Regions from separate parts of the Homo sapiens genome. Here region 2 is linked to region 1. The links are contacts of gene promoters, found by promoter capture Hi-C in human tissues and cell types (Jung and others, 2019). All regions are on one chromosome and are shown on one strand. The core of a region is centred on a gene start or on the middle of the fragment in contact, and the rest is flanking DNA. Distances in the headings are between cores, read along the strand shown.

Region 1 (6,692 bases), core at 1,215-3,714:
ATGTGTTGACTACGAATGTGAATAGTGCCCCTGTGAACTTGTGCAATGTACACCTACACCATCCATATGTAGCCCTGGATATTAAGTGGTTCAAATAATTTCTGGAAAGGTTCAAGAATCAAGCTTGGAAGCCACACAGTCATCAACCATTCCCAAAATTATACTGCAGGTTTGCTATATGGGAGACCTAGAGTCACTGCTGCTTGGCATAGACACCACATATGATCGATGAAGACTGGGCCACTTATGTACATCCTAGCTGCAAGAGATGCTGGGGAAGCAAGTTCTTGGAGTCAACTTGGGGAGGTGCTGACTCATGAAGTTGGAAATCCCTAAATTTAGGAAGGTATTTGTGATGGTGAATTTTAATGTGTCATCTTGACTGGGCTAATGGATGCCCAGATAGCTATTAAATATTATTTCTGGGTGTGTCTGTGAGGATGTTTCTGGAAGAGATTAGCATTTGAATCGGTAGACTGAGCAAAGAAGATCACCTTCATCTATGTGAGTGGAGTGGGCATCATCCAATCTGTTGAGGGCTTGAATGGAGCAAAAAGACAGTGGAAGGCAAATGTGTTCTCTGCTGGAGCTGGGCCAACCAGCTTCTCCTGTCCTTGGACATCAGCATTCCTGGTTCTTGGGTCTCTGGACTCAGATTGGGCCTTATGTCATTGGCTCTCCTGCTCTTGGGCCTTCAGGCTTGGACTGGATTACACCACTGGCTTTCCTGGGCCCCCAGCTTGCAGACAGCAGACTGTGGGACTTCTCAGCCTTCATAATCGCATGAACCAATCCCTCATAATCTCAATTACTCCCCCCACCCTCTCTCTATATGTATGTGTATATAAAATTTATTGGTTTTGTTTCTCTCAAGAACCCTGACTAATGTAGGGTTCAAAGGCTTTGGGGATCATTCTAAAAGCAAGACGAAAGACAAATGTCCACCAGAGCTTGCAAATACTGTATTTATCAATCCCTCCTCTTCTTGGCATAGTTTCTTTCAAACTTCTTAGTGTCCTCTTCCCATTATTACAAACTTCTCGTTTCTTCTAAGGTCCTTCTAAATTGGTGAGTTCTCAGTGGGAGTTGAGTGACCTTTTCCCTCAGTGTGACTATCACTGCCCAATGTCATTGATACATTATACAACTCCCCATCCCCACTTCCCCTCAGCTCCTGTTAACCACCATTCTTTCTGTCTCTATGAATTTGACTACTCTAGATTCCCCATGTAAATGGAATCATACAGTATTTGTCTTTTTGTGACTAGCTTATTTCACTTAACATAATACTCTCAAGGTTCATCCATTTTGTAGCATCTGCCAAAATTTCCTCCCTTTTAAGGCTGAACAGTATTCCATTGTACGTAGATACTGCATTTTGCTTTTCCATTCACACAAAGAGAGACACTTGGGTTGTTTCCGCCTCTTGGCTATTGTGTATAATGCTGCTACCAGCATGGGGTACAAATATGAGAAGTGAGGTTTAGGATCGTGTGAGGAGGATCACTTGTAGAGGGAAAATAGTGAAATAGGACGACCAGATAGGCTCTGTTGGAACTCGCGCCCATTGTTTTAAGACGCAGCTCAAATGTCACCTGGTTTTAGAAGTCTTCCTGGTCTCCGCAGGCAGTCAGTATCTCTTTCCTAAATCCACCACATTCCCGTAGACAGACACCACATTTATGCAAATCTCCTTCTCACAGACAGTGAGTTCCATGGGGGTCCCCTGGCAGCCTCCAGCCCTGTACCATGCTAACTCTTCCGGAGAGGAAATGGGGCCTCGGGAGAGCCTTTGAAGCCTGTGTTGGTACAGGCTGTCCTTCCAGCTAACGGGGCTCTCTGGGGAATGTATGTTTGACTTTCTATTCCCGGTAATATAAGTTCAAATGTTTGTGGATATTTGAAGCTCGGATGAAAGCGTTTCTATTCATGCCCCTAGAATCTGTGAGGCCTTTTCTTTCTTTTTTTTTTTTTAAACAAGAGCCCACAGCAAAACTTGGGTTACTTGGCTGAGGAAAGGAATGTAGAGCTAGGAGCAGGGTTTCATCTTCAGCCCCAGTCGGGCAAACCAGTGGCAGAAGGGAAAGCAGAGCCCAGGGGTCCCCATCCCGTACCTGGGGCGCAGGCCCCGCTGGGGTGGGAGGGAGAGTGGAGGGCCGGGCAGGCTGCAGCCGCGGATGGCTGCCCCCCCTGCCCCGGTGTTACTGGGAGGACGGAGGTTGCGACAGCAGCCGAGCCCACCCAGTTGCAGCCGGCTCGGGGCTTAGGGCAGGGGCGGGAGGTGACCACCGCGCCGCTGGCCGCCTCGCCCAGACATTCCGTTTCTGCCGCTGGAATGCGCGGACAAGGCTCCTTGTTGGCCTTGGGCGGGGTTCGCCGGGCCGGCCTGGCGCTCGAGGCCCCGGGGCGGGGCGGGGCCCGAGGCCGCGGGACCTTTAAATCCGAGCCTCGCGTGGGCTCCTGGCCCCCGACGGACACCACCAGGCCCACGGAGCCCACCATGCCGCGCCCGGCCCCCGCGCGCCGCCTCCCGGGACTCCTCCTGCTGCTCTGGCCGCTGCTGCTGCTGCCCTCCGCCGCCCCCGACCCCGTGGCCCGCCCGGGCTTCCGGAGGCTGGAGACCCGAGGTCCCGGGGGCAGCCCTGGACGCCGCCCCTCTCCTGCGGCTCCCGACGGCGCGCCCGCTTCCGGGACCAGCGAGCCTGGCCGCGCCCGCGGTGCAGGTACAGGCGGGCGGCGGGAGGGACGCGTGAGCATCGAACGAGGAGAAGCCCAGGGCATCCACCAAGCGCGCTTCATCCCGGCCTCAGGCCGACCGTGGTGCGGGGGAAAGAGGCCCCTCCCGGATGAATCCTGTGGGGGAAACTGAGGTCCAGAGAAGGGGAGGGAGATGCCCAATATCACTCATGTGTCCAGGCTAGAGATGTGGGTCTCCTGAAGCTCTCACTCCCCTGTGATTCGGCCAGGAGCACAGGGCAGCTGGGGAGCGCAGGGGCTGCTGCCCAGCGGCTGCTGCTAAGCTCCGTCCCAGTCCTGACCTCTCCATTCAGTGAGCAAACCCTTCCTGAGACTCTGCTGTTAGTTCTCTTGGAATCTCTCCATCTCCATCCAATATCAGGGCGTGATCTTTCCTCCCCTCCCACAGTCCTCAGGCTGCCTCAGACTGGAAGGTAAGGGATGCGGGTGTGAGACCAGGAGGAGATCCGAGGAGCCGTAGGATACCCCAGGATCAAGACACTCTGGGTCTTTGGCGAACAATTCTATTTCTCTTTTTGGTCAGCAATTGATTCCTGAAGCAGAGCAAAGCTCATAGTGCAGCGAAGCGGGCAGGTCGTCTGACACAGCCCCTGACAGCACATGAAGGGAAACTGAGGCATATCAAGTTGAAGGGACTCTGTGAATCAGTATCAGAGGCCACAATAAAATTCAGGGCTCCGAAATCCCAAGCAAGGTCTCTTTCCACTGCCCCAGCCTACCAACCTCTTAATATGGTTTACATAAGATTGTATCTTCATTTCCAAAAAGCGCAGCTTCAGTCTTGCTAAAAAGAGTCTGTGCCAGGCCATTTCTGGGTATGCAGTCTCATTTGGCCAGCCACGCTGCATGCCTCAGGCTGATTTCAATTGTCTATCCCCTTCTGCATCTTTCTGGATAAGCTGAGAAGGAGCTCAAGGGACTCTTTCCTGACTCAAATACTCAGTCCCCGTATTTGAAGTGGCAGATTTGAAATGGCAAAAGCATTGCTGCTAAGGCAGGAGGTACCGGGGTCCACAGGGCTAGATTCAGCTGGTGGCTGGTTGCTCCAGGCCGGGAATTGAGGGAAAGCCTTTCTTCTGGAAGTTAATCTTACTCTAGTCCTGACCTGCCTCCCTCTGGGATGGGACTGGAAGAGGAAGGAGAGATTCAGCACCAGGTGGCCATGTCCCCCTAAGCTTTACTGGTCTTTCATTACCTAGAGTCCGAACCTGATCATGAATGATAACCCATTAATAAATGCGAGATTCCACCCTGTTCCAAATTATCTCCTTTTAGCAACCAGAAATTGCTAAGCTTCGCTATGGATTTTTATTTCTAGCAGGACTGTAAGGACTCAGTGGTATTATGAGTATGGGAACATTTTAGGAGATTCAGATTCTTTCTTTGTTCTTGGGAATCAAATTGCTGCTATTTAGTAAATGGGAGTGAGATTCAAAAACAACTAATGATTGATGCGGAGTACCAGTCAGGAAGGAACCAGATGTTCACAGAATTTTCTGCCACCATGGTCAAGCCTCAGGTATTAGTTTTCTATGGCCACTGTAACAAATTACTGTGAATTTAGTGCCTTAAGACAACACACATTTATTACCTGAGAGTTCTGTGGGTCAGAAGTCTGACCCTGGTCTCACTGGGCTAAGATGAAGGTGTCGGCAGGGCTGTGTTCCTTTTGGGAGGCTCTAGGGGAGACTGCATTTCCCTTCCCTTTCCACCGCATGAAGGCTGCTGAGTTCCTTGGCTTATGGCCTTTTTCTTCCATTTTCAGAGCCAGCTAAAGCAGGTTGAGGCCTTCTCCCATTGAGTTACTCACATTTCTTTCATCTGCCTCCCTCTTCTACTTTATAATTACATTGACTCACTGAATAATCCAGGATAACCTCTTGTGTAGAGCTCTTTGACTTAATCACACCTGCAAAGTCTCTGCTCTTTGCCACGTAAAAGTAACATGTCTCTGGAATTAGGACGTGGACGTCTTTGGCGGGGGACATTATTCTGCATACCACACCCCGAATAGAGGATTCGGTGTGAATAACCAAGTGGAGAAGGAAAGAATCATGCACGTTTAGTTATAAGAACATAGCCATGATATTTATAAGGACACCATTTGGGTGCTGGTGAAAGCACTGTCAATTACAGAGTTCATATCTTCATGTTACCCCCACCTTTTCTTTTTCTAATTATACAAAAATACTTTGACCCATCTCCAGGAAAGATTTTCAACATAATTCTTCTTCCTAGCTCTAGATCTATGGGACTTTCCAGGAATGAAGTAAAATTCTGGAGGTTTTTTTTTTTTTTTTTTTTTTTAGTATTTGAAGAGATTTATTCTGAGACAAACATGAGTGACCATGGTCTGTGACACAGCCCTCAAGAGGTCCTGAGTACATGTGCTCAAGATGGTCAGGGTGCAGCTTGTTTTTATACAATTTAAGGAGGTATGAGACATCAATCAAATACATTTAAGAAATACATTGGTTTGGTCCTAAAAGGTGGGACAACTCAAAGCCGGTGGTGGTGAGGGGCTTCCAGGCTATAGGTAAGTTTAAATATTTTCTGGTTGATAATTGGTTGCATTTGCCTAAAGACCTGGGATCCATAGAAAGGAAATGTTCAGGTTAAGATAAAAGACTGTAAAGACCAATGTTCTTTTGAAGTCTTATAGTGGCTACCCTTAGAGACAATAGATGACAAATGTTTCCTATTCAGATCTTTTTAAAAAATTATTATTATTTTACTTTAAGTTCTGGGATACATGTGCAGAATGTGCAGGTTTGTTACATAGGGATACATGTGCGCTGGTGGTTTGCTGCACCCATCAACCCATCATCTAGGTTTTAAGCCCCACATAGATTAGGTATTTGTCCTAATGCTCTCCCTCCTCTTGCCCCCCACCCCCTGACAGGCGCTGGTGTGTGATGTTCCCCTCCCTATGTCCATGAGTTCTCATTGTTCAACTCCCACTTATGAGTGAGAACATGTGGTGTCTGGTTTTCTGTTCCTGTGTCAGTTTGCTGAGAATGACGGCTTCCAGCTTCATCCATGTCCCTGCAAAGGACATGGACTCATTCTTTTTTATGGCTGCTGGAGTTGTTTTTTTTTTTTTTAAAGAAAGAAAGAATTTTGATTCCTTTTTTTTTTTTTTGGCTTTTAGAGACTGGGTCTCATTCTATCATCCAGGCTGGAGTGCAGTGGTGTGATTGTGGCTCACTGCAGCCTTGACTCTCTAGCTTTAAGCGATCCTCCTGCCTCAGCCCCCTAAGCAGCTGGGACTACAGGTGCCTGCCACCATGCCTGGCTAATTTTTAAACTTTTTATAGAGATGAGGTCTCCCTATGTTGCCCAGGCTGGTCTAGAACTCCGGAGCTCAAGTGATCCTTCTCCCTCAGCCTCTCGAAGTGTTGGGATTACAGGCGTGAGCCACTGCGCCTGGGTTTAATTCCTTTTGACTTAACTAAATGCATGACATACAGCATATTTCAGGGCGGTGACTTAAAGTCAACAAGCAGGATGTTTACTGAATACATGAGAGAATGTTGATTTTTGTGGAGGAAAATGTTGCCTCAGAGAGAGGTAACTGGGATTCAGTAGCAAGCTCCCAGGGACTGGGAGTCAGGAAACCTGGAGTCCAATCCATGCTCTACCACTTTCTAGTTCTCACACCTCCTTGAACCTCAGGTTTCTCACCTGTAAAATGAATATAAAAACCACCTCTGCACCTCCAGCCTCACAGGTTGATGTGTTGGTACCTTGCGATTCCTAAAGTGTTACTGAAAGGAAGATTTTCTTTTTGTTAATTAAATACCTCCAAGCAGCAGGCTAAAAACAAGAAGATAATTTTCTGCTTTTAAAAGAAAACTAGACAGAGACATAAGGTAGGCTGTTCCAGGTAAGGCTTTAATTTTTTTCTATAAACTGCTTAGTCTAGGCATTAATTT
Region 2 (6,692 bases), core at 1,245-3,744, 120 kb before region 1:
TTCCATATTTTGAGTCTGTCCCAATCAAGGTAGAAGCCAGAACTCACTCCCCACCCTCCTCAGGGGGCAGTCATTATGACCAATGTCCCTACGTGAGACTCGTAGGGGGTCCTCTATAGAGAATGGGGTGGCGGAGGTCTCTGGCCCTTCAGGGCAACGGTGGCAGAGTTCTGGGGTCACACTGGAGCAGAGCTTTCTGGGGTCGGGGGGCAGCCTCTGCTGTGAGTCTTAGGTATTATTCTTAGCTCCGTGGCATCCAAGTCTGACTCTTTGGTCTCCTGGAGATCCCATGAGCTTCAAAATGCCTTTCAATAACTTGCTTTTCTGTGAAAACTAGCTGGAGTGAAGCCCTACCACTCTTAGAAAAACTCACCAGGCAGAAAGGATGGGAAAAGCAATCCTAGCAAAGAGTGGCAGTTCTTAACCCTTTAAGCCAGCTGGGCACTTATAAACGTGCCCACACCCAGCATCCTGCTTGCTTTGGGCATAACCCACATCTGAGTCGTTAGGGTGGCTTTAAATTCTGCAATGTTATGGGATTACACTTTTCTGTAATATTTGCATGAATTGGCTTGGGTCCCTATCACACATGAGGTGAAGATCCCAAGATGTTTTCCCTTCCCATGTCTTCAGGGGGTCTAGGGGACAGTGAGTTTTATTCAGGTCTCTTCTCTCTTCTTTGCTGTGCTTCTGCTTGTTCTCTTCTTGCTCTCTGTACAGTGTCGCCCTCCACCAGACACACCCGAGGTCCTTTATTCCCTAAAGGACACCAATGAAAGGCTGAGTGTTGAAATCTGGGAGCCAGAAAGTGGGGTGAGTGATACCACAAAACAGCACAGCAGACCATCTCTTTTTTCTTTTAAGATTTTATTGTAGGATATATCACACACAGAAAAGTGCATGAAACATAAATGTACACTTTAGCAAATCGTTATAAAGTAAAGACCTATATAACAGTCACCCAACTGAAGAAATAGGCTATTGCCAGCGCTCCAGGACCCTCCCATGTGCCCCACTGTAAACAGTCTTTACAGTGACATGTTTCATACATTCAGAAGAGTGTATAAAACAGATACAACTGAATGAATCTTCCAAAAAGGAACACCGTGTGCCCATTAAATATGGTATTACTAATATCTAAGAAGTCTTTTTTTTTTTTTTCAATGGAGTGTCACTCTGTCACCCAGGCTGGAGTGCAGTGTTGCGATCTTGGCTCACTGCACCCTCTACCTCCCGGGTTCAAGCGATCCTCACACCTTAGCCTCCTGAGTAGCTAGGATTATAGGTGTGTGCCACCACGTCTGGCTAATTTTTTTTCTAACAGTTTACAAAAGTCCTTTCTGGGGACATCACTGGACAAGACCATGAGTGAGCCTAGGGAAACACAGGCTCCCTATAACTAAGGCATCGGGCAGGGCTGTGATGTGAGCCAGATACCGGACACCTGGCAAGAGGAGGGAGCTGTTTGGTGTTTTTTCCTTCTAAGCTCACTATGGCCCACATCCAGTTCTCAGGAGCAGGGCAGATCACACTGAGGTGGGGGTGGCAGCAGGCAAGGAGGGGTGGGCACAGACTGCACAGCACATGGTCAAGACAAGGCAAGGGCAAATCAAAACTGGGGCCAGGCTCACCGGAGCCTCCTGTCCTCAGGTTGGAAAGACTGTCCGGTGGCAGTGACGCTGCGACAGCCCTCGATGTACCTCTTGCTGGCATTGTGCCACCCCCTCGGGGACCAGCTGCCCTCCCTGTCTTGTGCAGTGCTGTCCTCCTGCACTACCCTCCTACGGACTGCTCCTTGCCTCCTCTCCATGCTGGCTGTGCCGTTTCCTATGTCCTGTGTCTTCCCTTCTGTTAACTCTCAGTTTGGAGGAGCACATTCTCCAGTAGCTTCTTGAGAAATGTTGCATGGGAGGAAATTTTCTTGCAATATCGCACGACTAAAAGTGTCTTTAGCCTCATACATAATTAGTATTTGGCTGGATAGAGGAGTCGGCTTGGAGAGCGTGTCCCTCCAGCATTTTGGGTTTGCCTTTGCTGTCTTCTTGTGTCCCAGCGCTGCTGATGAGTTATCAGAATCATTCCGAGTCCTCATCTTTTGCATGTCACCTGTTTTCTGCCCCATCTGAAAGCTTGTGGAATTCCATTGTCCCCAGCTGCCTGAAATTTCACAAAGATATGCTTGGCATGGGCCTGTTTTCATCCCTTGCCTGGCTCTTTTTTCTCTGTAATTTCTGTTATTTCCATATTAGATCTCCTGGGCTAAGCCTCCAATATTTTAAATCTTCTCTCCTACTTTCCATCTCTTGTTTTTTTTTTTTTTCTTCCTGATTTCTAGGAGATTTCTTCAACTTTATCTTGCATACCCTCTGATGTGGTTTGGGTCTGTGTCTCTGCCCAAATCTCATGTTGAATTGTAATCTCCAATGTTGGAGGTGGGGCCTGGTGGGAGGTGACTAGATTATGGGGGTGGATTTCTCCTGAATGGTTTAGCACCATCCTCTTGGTGCTGTCCTCATGACAGTGAGTGAGTTCTCCTGAGACCTTGTTGTTTAAAAGTGTGTGGCACCTCCCCCTTCTCGCTCTTGCTCCTGCTCTGGCCATATGACATGGCTGCTCCCACTTCACCTTTCTCCATGATTGGAAGCTTCCTGAGGCCTCCCCGGAAGCAGATCCTGGAGCTCTGCTTCCTGTACAGCCTGCAGAACCATGAGCCAATTAAACCTCTTTTCTTATAAATTCCCCAGTCTCAGGTATTTCTTTATAGCAATGTGAGGATGACATAATACACCTTCTACTGTGGCTGCCATGTTTTTCATTTCCAAGAGTGTTTTACTTTTATTCTCAGCATATTCACTTTTCCTGTCTTCTAGGGTGGGGCTTGCCAACCTTTGACTTCATGGGGGAGTGGTCTGGATGTGTCGTTTGTCAGAGATCCCCCCATATCAGGATTTAGTCTTCCTTTTGAGTTGCCCAGACTATTTAGAGAAGATTGTTCTAACTCCTGCTTTGAGAGGAAGGCTGCCTTGTGTTTTGGGTGTTTAGAGTCAGAGTCCGGGGTGGGGTCTCCATAGGCATATGACCCAGAATCTTCCTGCCTTCTGGGCAGTAACCACTCACAGTAATTTTCCAGTGGGGAAGGGGAGGGGACAGGAGGGTTTCCAGGCATCTGACTGCTTCTTAAACAACTTTCAACCCATCCTTATTTCAACTTCCTTCTTTACCCAGCTTAGAGAGGTTCCCTCTAGAGTCAGTTCCTGAGACTTCTAAGCATCCTGCTTGTAAATGGTTTTGATTCTAAACTCTCCCCACTGCTGGCCTAGGAACTGGCTTTCTCCATCTGCGTCGGAGAATGCTCATCTGCCAGCTTCCCATGTTTTGCTCCTGTTTTCTCCTCTTCTGTTTCCCTCATTTTTGTGGTTTTATGTCTTCCTTTTAAAGTTCTCTATTATTGTTCTAGTGAGATTTGGGGAAAAATGCAATTAGATGTGTGTTTAGGCTGCCACTTTAACTTGAAAACCTCAAATATTCCTCTTCTGAAAGTCCCCCAGCCACTTCCTGAGAGTAGGAATTTCACGCCAGCCCTCTCTTCTCAAATGCCAGCTTCCCTCCGTGTGGCTTGGATGCCTCAAACTCAACACCCTCATCGCCTTCATTTCTGTCTTCCTCACAGAGGCCCCGCAGCTCCGTGTGAGGCCTGCACACAGGAGAGACAAAGAGACATGAACTGGGAGACTCCAGAGGAGGTGTCTGTGCTGGGAAGAGAGACGACAGGGCCTGGGGCTGCTGCCTAGCTGGGGAAGAGCTGGGCCCCAGGTGAGGGCTTCTGGGCCCTGGCTCCGATCTGACCCAGGCAGACTCACAGACAATATCAATGTCCTGTGGTTTATGCCAGGATACAGAAAGTACGGGATAGAGCAGGAGCCCAGAGGAGGTGTGACTCACCCAGCTGGGAGACTTCGGGGAGAGCAGGGAAAGGTAAAGTGTCCTGGACTAAACTGGGCCTTGAAGAATGAGAAGCTCTTGGCCAGGTGGAGAAAGTGAGGAAAGGGGTGTTTCAGGCAGGCAGTCCACTGACCTATGTATGGTACCTCTGCAAATTAGACAAAGGTGTCCCCTCTGGGTAAATGTAGACAGTGACAGAGAGGCCTGCATGTGCGAAAGCTTGGTGTGCTCTGTGGCAGGCAGGAGAATGACCCTCGAAGAAGTACAAGCCCTAATCTCTAGACCCCGAGAATCGGCCTGTGGATGTGATGAAGGACCTCGAGATGGAGCGCATATCCTGGATTATCTGCGCAGGTCCTGGGTAATCACCAGGGCCCTTCTAAGAGGGAGGCGGAGAGAGAGGTCAGTGTCAGAGAGAGATGTGACGATGGGAGAAGAGGTCAGAAAGAGATTGGAAGATGCTACTCAGTGGCTTTGCAGATGCAGGGAGGGGGCATGAACCAAGGAATCGGGAGGCTTTTTGAAGCTGGGAAAGGCAAGGCAATGGATTCTTTCTTGGAACCTCCAGAAGGAATGCAGCCCTGCTGGCACCTTGACTTTCATCCTTTAAGACCCATGTCTGGACTCCTGACCTCCAGAACTGTAATATAATACATCTGCGTTGTTTCGAACCTGTAAGTCTGTGGTAGTTTGCTGCAGCAACAACAGGAATTAATACTCAGGCCCTGGTGCTTTCAGGGAAGGGCTGTGGCCAATGTGCCTGGGGCCTGGGGTGGGAGAGGTGGAGTGGGGACAGATGAGGCTGGACAGATAGGCAGGGGATACACAGGGCCTTCCAAGTCACAGCAAAGAATTTGCCCTAGCCAAGGCAGTCCAAGTGAGACAGGAGGAAGAGGGGAGCAGTATTTTGGGGGGATCCGTGCTGTGGAAGATGGTCTGGTGGGAAGTGGCTGGGGCACACTGACATTGGGGAGCTGCTGTAGGTGCAGCAGAAGGTGACATGGCCTGGACCCAGCTAGTGGCAATGCGGGAAGGCATAGCCTGCCTGAGAGCTGAAACACAGCAGAGGGCAAATTCCTCTTCTCCCCTGCCCTTGTTTTTTTTCTTCCTGCCTCACCCAGCTATGGTGCCAAAGGCTCCAAAGGGCCACCTGAGATAAGGTAATGATTTTGGAGGAAGAGTAAATTCTGGGGAATGTTCCCAACGGCTCAACTGGGAAAGGACAATTGACTTCCTATGTGTGCACAGCTATTCATGCACACTCACACCAACGACACACACACACACACACACACACACACACACATGAGGGGTTCTAGCATGCCCGTGGCCTTTCTCCTCATTGGCCTTCTCCCTCGCGGGGCCAGGGAGAGGCTGCTCACCCTTGGCAGTCCCAGGAGCCCGAGGTGCGGCCCAGGGGGCATGTCTGATGTCAGGCCTCCAACAGTGACTCCCTTTTGGGGCCAACAGGTGAGGGAGACAGGAGGCGGGAGTCAGAGGACTGAACCCTGAGTGGGGAGGCACAGGGCACACTGCCAACCGACTCTTCAATCACACCTGTGATCACAGCAGAGGCGAAACTCTGGTCACTTCATCAGAAAGATCAAGATTGCAAACCACAGCACCTGGTGTGTGCACACCCTGCACCCTTCACTCAATCTCCAGCCACTCTGAACCACCTGTAGCTCTCTGAATGCCACCCGTTTCACCTGTCTCTTTCTCTGTCTGGGCATCTTCTCTCCCTTCTGGTCTGCCTGGTTATCTCCTCCTGATTGTTCAGGTCTCACATCAATAAATTCCTTTTCCGCGGGGACTGGCTGGGACTGGCTGAGGTTCAGTGCATGGACCCTGGAGCTAGTCAGCCCTGCAATGAGTGCAGCCCTGCTGCCCACCAGCTGTGTGGGGCAGTCAGGGCTCCTCCCTGGGCAAGAGACAAAAAACCCAACCCACACTGGCTTAAGCAAAAACAGTATGTATTGGCTTATGAACCTGAACAACCCCAGGATGGACTTCAGGCAAGGGTTTATCCAGGACTCAAACGAAGAAACCTGGGCCAGGTTTCCTACCCTCCATTTTTCAGCCCCATTTCCCTGGTGCGAGCTCCATTCTCAGATACACTCTGTCCAAAGCCCCAGGCCACATGCTCCCCTGTCCAATTTTATATTCAAATTTAAATTTATCTAAAACTTAAATATGAATAAACTATGTAAATCTGTAATATATATTTTATATACAATATGACATACATATTAAATAAATTTAAATTTATATAAATAGTAAATATTTTAATTTATTAAATTTATATTTATATTTAAAAGATGAGGAAAATAAAAGCATTTTAAAATGAAGTATTGTCTTCCTCCTTTTCTGCTGGCCTGGGTCTTTACACCATGGCAGAGGTCACTGCTGGTAGATGAGAGAAAGCTTTCTAAAGCTGAGACATGTGTTTTTGAGAACTAAATGTTAGATGGAGGGCAGTTAAAAATTAAAATATACCTTTGGCCAGGCGCAGTAGCTCATGCATATAATCGCAGCACCTTGGGAAGCTGAGGGGGTGTGGATCATTTGAGGCCAGGAGTTTGAAACCAGCCTGGGCAACATAGTGAAACCCCATCTCTTCAAAGATAAAAAATAATTAAAAATGTTTAAAAATAAAAAAAATTAAATGCACCTTTTCTAGACCCACTTCTATTCTAATAATTCTGCTTATATGCATTTATCCTATAAATATATGTCACTTGTTCAAAATA

What was found. Contacts are between HindIII fragments. The study calls those that stand out against the background at their distance.
Region 2: a contact is called between a fragment that was not itself captured here and the fragment with the promoter of MATN3 in region 1, in 2 of the 25 tissues and cell types used here (adrenal gland and mesenchymal stem cells).

What each region holds. Positions count from the first base shown.
Region 1 is chr2:20,008,440-20,015,131 of GRCh38, reverse strand. It overlaps MATN3 (matrilin 3), which reads left to right and starts at 2,464. Exons shown (of 8, transcript NM_002381.5): 1 at 2,464-2,723. The coding sequence starts at 2,501. RefSeq lists an enhancer at 2,748-3,360. The HindIII fragment of the contact is 8,921 bases long and covers 1-6,295 here.
Region 2 is chr2:20,128,248-20,134,939 of GRCh38, reverse strand. No RefSeq gene overlaps it. Among named protein-coding and RNA genes, the nearest start is that of LAPTM4A-DT, 79 kb to the right of the region's middle. The HindIII fragment of the contact is 5,540 bases long and covers 1-5,264 here.